Regions from separate parts of the Homo sapiens genome. Here region 2 is linked to region 1. Evidence: promoter capture Hi-C in 16 types of primary human blood cells and fetal thymus (Javierre and others, 2016). All regions are on one chromosome and are shown on one strand. The core of a region is centred on a gene start or on the middle of the fragment in contact, and the rest is flanking DNA. Distances in the headings are between cores, read along the strand shown. Region 1 holds the start of ZNF571 (zinc finger protein 571). Region 2 holds the start of ZNF283 (zinc finger protein 283).

Evidence for each region. Contacts are between HindIII fragments. The CHiCAGO score rates a contact against its expected background, and 5 or more counts as called.
Region 2: the fragment with the promoter of ZNF283 here is called in contact with the fragment with the promoter of ZNF571 in region 1 in 1 of 17 cell types (total B cells); the score reaches 10.5 in total B cells.

Annotation. Positions count from the first base shown.
Region 1 is chr19:37,593,208-37,596,675 of GRCh38, forward strand. ZNF571 (zinc finger protein 571) reads right to left here and starts at 1,585. Exons shown (of 4, transcript NM_016536.5): 1 at 1,534-1,585. It overlaps ZNF540 (zinc finger protein 540), which reads left to right and starts at 1,669. Exons shown (of 5, transcript NM_001172225.3): 1 at 1,669-1,888. RefSeq lists enhancers at 546-1,227, 1,027-1,156, 1,227-1,276, 1,228-1,910, 1,507-1,706 and 2 more. The HindIII fragment of the contact is 14,201 bases long and covers 1-3,468 here.
Region 2 is chr19:43,825,734-43,829,201 of GRCh38, forward strand. ZNF283 (zinc finger protein 283) reads left to right here and starts at 1,588. Exons shown (of 7, transcript NM_181845.2): 1 at 1,588-1,711; 2 at 2,469-2,548. RefSeq lists an enhancer at 1,446-1,645. The HindIII fragment of the contact is 6,325 bases long and covers 1-3,468 here.

The sequences.
Region 1 (3,468 bases), core at 335-2,834:
ATAAAATACAATTTTGAAATACTATAGGAAAAAACGGGGAAGGATTGATACAAAGGTATTTACAAATGTTTTTAATTACAGCTAGGTGTTGAACATGTTGGGGTTCGTATTATTCTTTAGCCTGCTTGAAAACATCCACAATAAAGTTAAAATTTTAAAACTCTTCAAATTTCCCCCAGAAAGTACAGTTATTTTTCATCAAAACCTTAGACCAGGCCAGGCGCGGTGGCTCACGCCTGTAATCCCAGCACTCTGGGAGGCCCAGGCGGGTGGATCACGAGGTCAGGAGATCGAGACCATCCTGGCTAACACGGTGAAACCTCGTCTCTACTAAAAACACAAAAAATTAGCCGGGCATGGTGGCGGGCGCCTGTAGTCCCAGCTACTCGGGAGGCTTAGGCAGGAGAATGGCGTGAACCCGGAAGGCGGAGCTTGCAGTGAGCCGAGACCGCACCACCGCACTCCAGCCAGGGCGACACAGCGAGAATCCGTCTCAAAAAGCAAACAAACAAACAAAAAAATCTTAGACCAGAAAGGACTGCTGTATCATTGGGTGGAAAGGAGAGGTGTAGTGTGGCTGGGGAGTAGAGCTAAACTGATGATCCCATCCCCGCAGCATCATTTATGGGGTGCCTAAGGACCAGTCACTAGCATGGCTGGTTCTTCCTTAGGAAGATGTTGCTGGAGGTAGAAAACGTTTCGGAAAGGAAGAAATTTGAGGTTAGAAAGAAAACAGGAACTTCACACAAGACTTTCAGAAGTGCGATATTCTTTTCCTCTGGGTGCCTCTCTTGGAAAACGCAGAACCGAGAAAAGAAATAAGCATCATAGAACATCAGAGCTCTCGGAGCAGACGAAACAATTTAGGATAACACCAACCTCTAGAAAGGGATTAGTCTTCCCCACAGGGCTGTCAAGCTAGAATAGGACATCTTTAACAGTGGTCTTCTTCCTAAGACACTTCCAGGGGTAAAGCCTCACCATCAGGGAAACTTCAAAAAGAGCCTCTTACTCTGCAAAGAAACTGCAGCAGCTGTAACCGCACGATTCTCAGCTGGCTTAATGATGTCCGTGTCACACGAGGAGTACTGCGGCCCGGGAGGGGCCAAGCGCTAGGAGCATTAACAGGCGGCAGGTGAGCCCACCCCGCGGCCGCACAAGCGCACACGCACACGTCCAGGGCGGAGGAACACTACTAGTAACACCCGCCTCCTTCTAGCCTCCCTATCCCAAAGTTATGGTGCCGATTTTGTCCGCGGCAGGGGCTCCAGGGGCACACTCATAAATTCGGTGCGGAGGAACACAACTAGCAGCACCACACCCCCGCCACTGCCAGAACCAAAGTGACGGTGCCGACACCCCTCCGCAAGCGCAAGGCCGACTTCCATAAGTAATTAGCCAGAGCACCGTCCCGTTCCTGTCAGCACCGAGCCCCAGCCAGGACACCGGTATTCCCAGCACCATACAAGAACTACTTTTTCGATGAAGCAACCCAAAAGCTGCGAGCGGTTCCCGGTGAGGCCGCCCACTCACCTGGCCGGCGCAGACAAGCTCCGTGCGTCAAGACATAACAGCGTAAGTGTACGACGTTGCGCAGCGACGCGGGGGCCTTCGGGAAATGTAGTCTACAACTGGAAACCGGCCGGATCGTGTCTGCGCAGGCCCAGCAGCTAAGATCGGGTCCGGCGCTCCAGAACAGAACGATCCCTGAGGCTCCCTTGCTCGAACTGTGGGACTTACCCTACTATGGTCCGAGCCTACCCTATTTCATTATACTCAAGTAACGCCCCAGAAATTCCAGAGAATCTCACACAAAGAGGTTGAGTCTTGCCGTGGTGCCTTCAGGGGAATGTCATCCCGGGCTAGAAGAGCTGCAAAAGGCTGTCAGGTAAGGTCTGGATTTCTCTCTGACAGCTCTGGCCGTGACGCAGTGGCCACGATACCGGGTTGCTGCTCAACGGGGTTCGGAAGTGTGACGCATTCTTTGCGGCCATGTGTGTGTGTGTGCGTGTGTGTGTGGGTCTGTGCGCGCGCGTGTCCGAGTGTCCTCTGTGGGTGCAGAGTGGGTAGTGGCCATGCCTGTGTGATGTGCGTCAGATTATGCTTGAGGCTATTAGTGGCGCATTTAGTATTGTGTGCGGAAGGGTCTTGGGAATGGTTTGATTATAGCTTTGAGGGTGACTGATGTCTGTTTAATCAGATTCAGCCTGCGACTGAGTATCTTATAACCTGTAAGAAATTGATTTTTCTTTGCATGGTCATGAATTTAAAATAGATTCCCATGAAATTATATAAATGTAGTGAATGATTCATTGAGAGTTCGCCTGTGGCAGTGAATGTGGGGAAAGAAGTGTGTGAGCATAATATGGTGAGAATGAGCACGATTGTGTGCAGCGCTGTATTATAGTGATATCTCCTGGCTTCAGTTTTCTCACCTGTAAAGTGAGGGTGTCAGTCGTGTAACGCTTTGGAACAATGCTTTTTAATAGGAATTTCTGCAAAACTGAGTTCCATTTTTTATATCTGTGCTCTCCAATATAGTAGCCACTAGCTACATATGGCTATTGAGAAATTGAAATGTGGCTGGTTTGACTGAGGAACGAATTTTTTAAATTGTGTTCAATTTTAATAAATCTAAATGTAAACAGCTATATATGGCTAATAGTCTTCCTATTGAACAGTACAACCTGGAGCATTAATTTGCCTTCAAGATTTGAAGGGGGTAAAAACTTAATTCATCTAGCAAATATTTGAAAATGAAATTCTTAAAACTTCCTTAAATTTTTTTTTAAATTTGAGATGATTGTAGATTCATATGAGGTTGTAAGAAATAATAGAGACATTGTGTGTTATCTTCAACTTAGTCTTCTCCAATGACAACATCTTGCAGGACTGTAGTATAATATGACAACCAGGATGTTGACATTGATAGTCAAGATAGATCATTTCCATCACCTCGAGGATCTGTTGTGTTGCCCTTTTATAGACAAATGCACTTTCTTCCCTCTTGTTTGAAGATATTCGCGTCAACATTAATGATAATGTAGGCATACCTCATTTTATTGTGCATCATTTTATTGCACTTTGCAGATACTGTATTTGTTTGTTTTAAAGAGACAGGCTCTCACTGTCTCACCCAGGCTGGAGTGCAGTGGTGCAGTTATAGCTCACTGCAGTCTCGAACTCCTGGGTTCAAGGGATCCTCCAGCTGGCCCACAAAGCCTGAAATATTTATTATGTGGTTCTTTGCAGGAAAAGTTTGCAGACTCCCAATCTATATTATTTCTGATGGCTACTTTATTTTCTATTATATGGATACACTAGAATTTATTTAACCTGTTCTTTATTGAAGTCTAATTTATGTTTGTATCTAGCTTTTTCCATTTTAAAATTAGTCTATCTGCACCTGTCTGCATATATCCTAGTGAACATATATAATTATTTTCCTTAGACAGGGTCATAGGAGTG
Region 2 (3,468 bases), core at 338-2,837, 6.2 Mb after region 1:
CTAAGAATGACACAGTGGACTTTGGGGACTTGGGGGAAAGGGTGGAAAGGGGGTGAGGGATAAAAGACTAAAAATTGGGTGCCATGTACACTGTTCAGGTGATGGGTGCACCAAAATCTCACAAATCACCACTGAAGAAGTTACTCATGTAACCAAACACCACCTGTTTCCCAAAAACCTATGGAAATAAAAAATTAAAAAAAAATCAGACCCCCAAAATATTCAGAGTAGTACTTGTGGGAGTCATTGAGCAAGTAACATGGGAAGAGAGGAGGCTGCTTCCACCAGTGGTTTTGGAGGTGGAGCAGATGCTGATGATAATGAAGTCCCAGATGGGAAACGGGGATGGGTGCCGAGGAAAGCTCAAGGACCCTGCAGATGAGGACTCAGACCCACGATACTGGATGAGGCATCCATGTCACCATGGGAGTCAACCAGGGTAGTGGCCTCAGCTGAGGCAGGGGAAAAGCTGGGATCCAAGAGCTCTAGTCTTCTCTTGATAAGCAAGAGAGACCAGGAGGTGAGAGATGGCAGAGGATGAGAGAGGTGATATCAGTGACCAGAAAGAGCCCCTAAAAAGTAACTTCCTTTTCTTTCTGTTAGTTTTAATATAAAATTTCGCTTTAATATTTTTAGACAATTCTTTTTTAAAAAAGTATTTATATCCAAAGGTTCTTACCACACCAACCACAGCCCCAATCTTTTTGCCCTAACCTCAGAATCAGTTAGTTGTCTCCTTTAAAACCTTTCTCTCTCTCACACACCCACACACACACACACGCAAACACACAGGAGAGAGAGAGAGGGAATATATAGTATTGTTTTTGGAGTATGAGTGTGTGCTTCAGAATAAATGGTTTCATACTCTATAAAAAATGAGATTCAAATTTTATAATCCATCAAGTTTTATTGGAACACAGCCATGCTGGATTGCTTGTGCATTGTTTATGGCCGCCTTTGCACTGCCATAAGTCTCCACGGTCACAATATCCACTCACTACCACTTATTGTTGTCTTTCAACAGCGGCATATAAAATCTGTAACACAGTTCATCTCACACCTAATAAAACAGACTCACACAGGCATAAATTTAGAAAACATCCCATGAACATAAACAGGTCCACGCAGGGTCCCAGACACCGAATCGAACTAAGAAACTCCCTCACAGCAAGACACACCCATCTGTTCAATTGCCAGACACTGTTCCAGGCGCTCATACCCAGGTAAACTGGTAGTGTCGCGCAGGTCATTTCCAGCGAACTTACCCCGGATTCCCTTGCTCGCTCACGTCTAAGTCCCCAGACACCCCAGTCCCATCTTCGCCTGTTCTAGACTCCAGAATGCGTTCCTTAGCGAAAGCTGAGAACCTTTTAATTCGCTCTCAGTCAACACCAAAGACCCTCAAGCAAAAGCAAGAGCTCCCGGGCGTCTTCGAAAAAAGCGCCTTTGACAGGTGAAGCCAAGTTGCATGCTGGGAGCATCCCTGCTGTCCAGGTTTCAACTTCCGGAGACTCTGCCGCTGTGGACTACATTTCCCAGAAGTCTCCGGGGCACAGGCCTTTTAGGGGCGGGGCGAGCTTGCCTGCCAGAAGCTCCTCTCCCAGCCTGCGAGCATTTCCAGGCTCTTGTTTCCCATCAGCCTCTGGGTCCAAACTAACCACAGGTCTCTGGGTCCTTTTCCGGTGTCCTTAAGGTTCTTGGACTCTGCATGGTGAGTTGGTCGTGTCTGTAGAAGTAATCAGCCCGGGTGAAGCTGGGAGGGCTCGGCTGGCTTTACTGGGGCCCGACTGGAACCGGCAGTGAGGGTGGGGGTGGCATCGGGGGTGCTGGAGGTGGGGAGGGCTGGGTCACGGACAGAGCGTGTCGTGTCCGGATCCTCAAGCCTGTGTGCACGCGAGCAGCCGAGGGACAGTGTGTCTCAGACGGCGTGGCAGGGACGGGGCGTGTCCCCACGGAGGTGGGTGCAGTTGTGAATGTGTGACGGGCTGACAGGGTGCGTGGCCGTATTTGTAAATGTGATTTGCTTTGACCAAATGCTCTAGGTTCCCTTTAGCCTGTCTTCGGGCCTGCCACAATTAAATGACCGCAAGAAAGAAGTCTATGCTAAGCCCCATAATGAACGTTTCAAGCAAGAAGGATGAGAATTTTAGATCTGGAAGTGTCCGCGGGACAGGATCTTGTCAAGACCTGATGGGGAAGTTCTAGAGGTGGGATTCCTAGAAGAGGGGCCTCTAGGAGCTCTTTGGTGGTGAGCTACATGTTTCAGAGCCATTGCAAGCAGACCTCTGTCCCCAAGAATTGCCCTCAACACAGAGACAGACTCTAGCCTCCCTTTTCATTCCGTTTGGTTTTGTGTGGATGAAGGCAGAAGTGGCCCCAGAGGGTGTTTTGCTCTTCTTTTTCTTTTTTAATTAAGTCTGTGACGCGCTAGAAATGCTGATGTCTCATGTTACTGTTTTTTCCCCCAGTGCTGCCAGGTTGCCAGATTTCTAAGAAGGAGTTTGAAGAGGAGAAAAGGATTTTTGCATGTTTAGAAATCAAGGTTCAGGTGAGGTTTTTTATACATACTTTTTAAATACATACACATACAATTACCTTTGCTTCTAGGTCATGAGAACATTTTCTTTCCTTGGCCTGAAATATCTTGACTGGGTTTTCCCAGTTACATGACCCGCCATGCTGGTACATATTTCCTCCCAGTGGCCCCCTATTGTTCTTCTCCACAATTCTTACCCACCTGTTCATATGGCAAATTGTTCAAATACTTCAGTGCATTATGATGCACTGAAGAGTTATAGAAAGGCACCTCTTGTAGATTGCTATTAGAGCATTATTTTATACTATGATTATTTGAAGAGATTAGTAATTAGGTGGTGTTATATAAACATTATTTTTTATCTTTTCTGTAGTCATAATTAAAATTTTTTTTTAACTTTTTTTAGAGACAAGGTCTCACTCTGTTGCCCAGGCTGAGTGCAGTAGTATAGTCATAGCTCAGTGCAACCTTGAAGTCCTGGGCTCAGGTGTTCCTCTGGCCTTGGCGTCCCAAAGTGCTGGGACTGCAGGTGTGAGCCACCATGCCTGGCCCATAGTCATGATGCTTAAAGAAAGGCAAGGTATAAGGGATTTTAAGTAAGGGAATGTTTCTGGCAGTAAATGACAATGTTGTCTGCTTTGTGAGGCTTTTAGGGGTGGAAATATGATTGAGCTTTGAACATAGGGATTTGTAATTTGCACCAACAAGAGTGGGGACTTTCAGATAATCTTTAGATAGAAATCTGTAACATTTCCAAGCATGACTTGTTTGAAGTCCAGCTTTCTGTGGCATGTAAGAAGCCGTACTATGTTGTAGTTAAAAATAAGGCCCTGGGGTCGGGCACAGTGGCTCACGCCTGTAATCCCAGCACTTTGGGAGGCTGAGGGAGGTGGATCATGAAGTCAGGAGATCGAGAACATCCTGGCTAACAC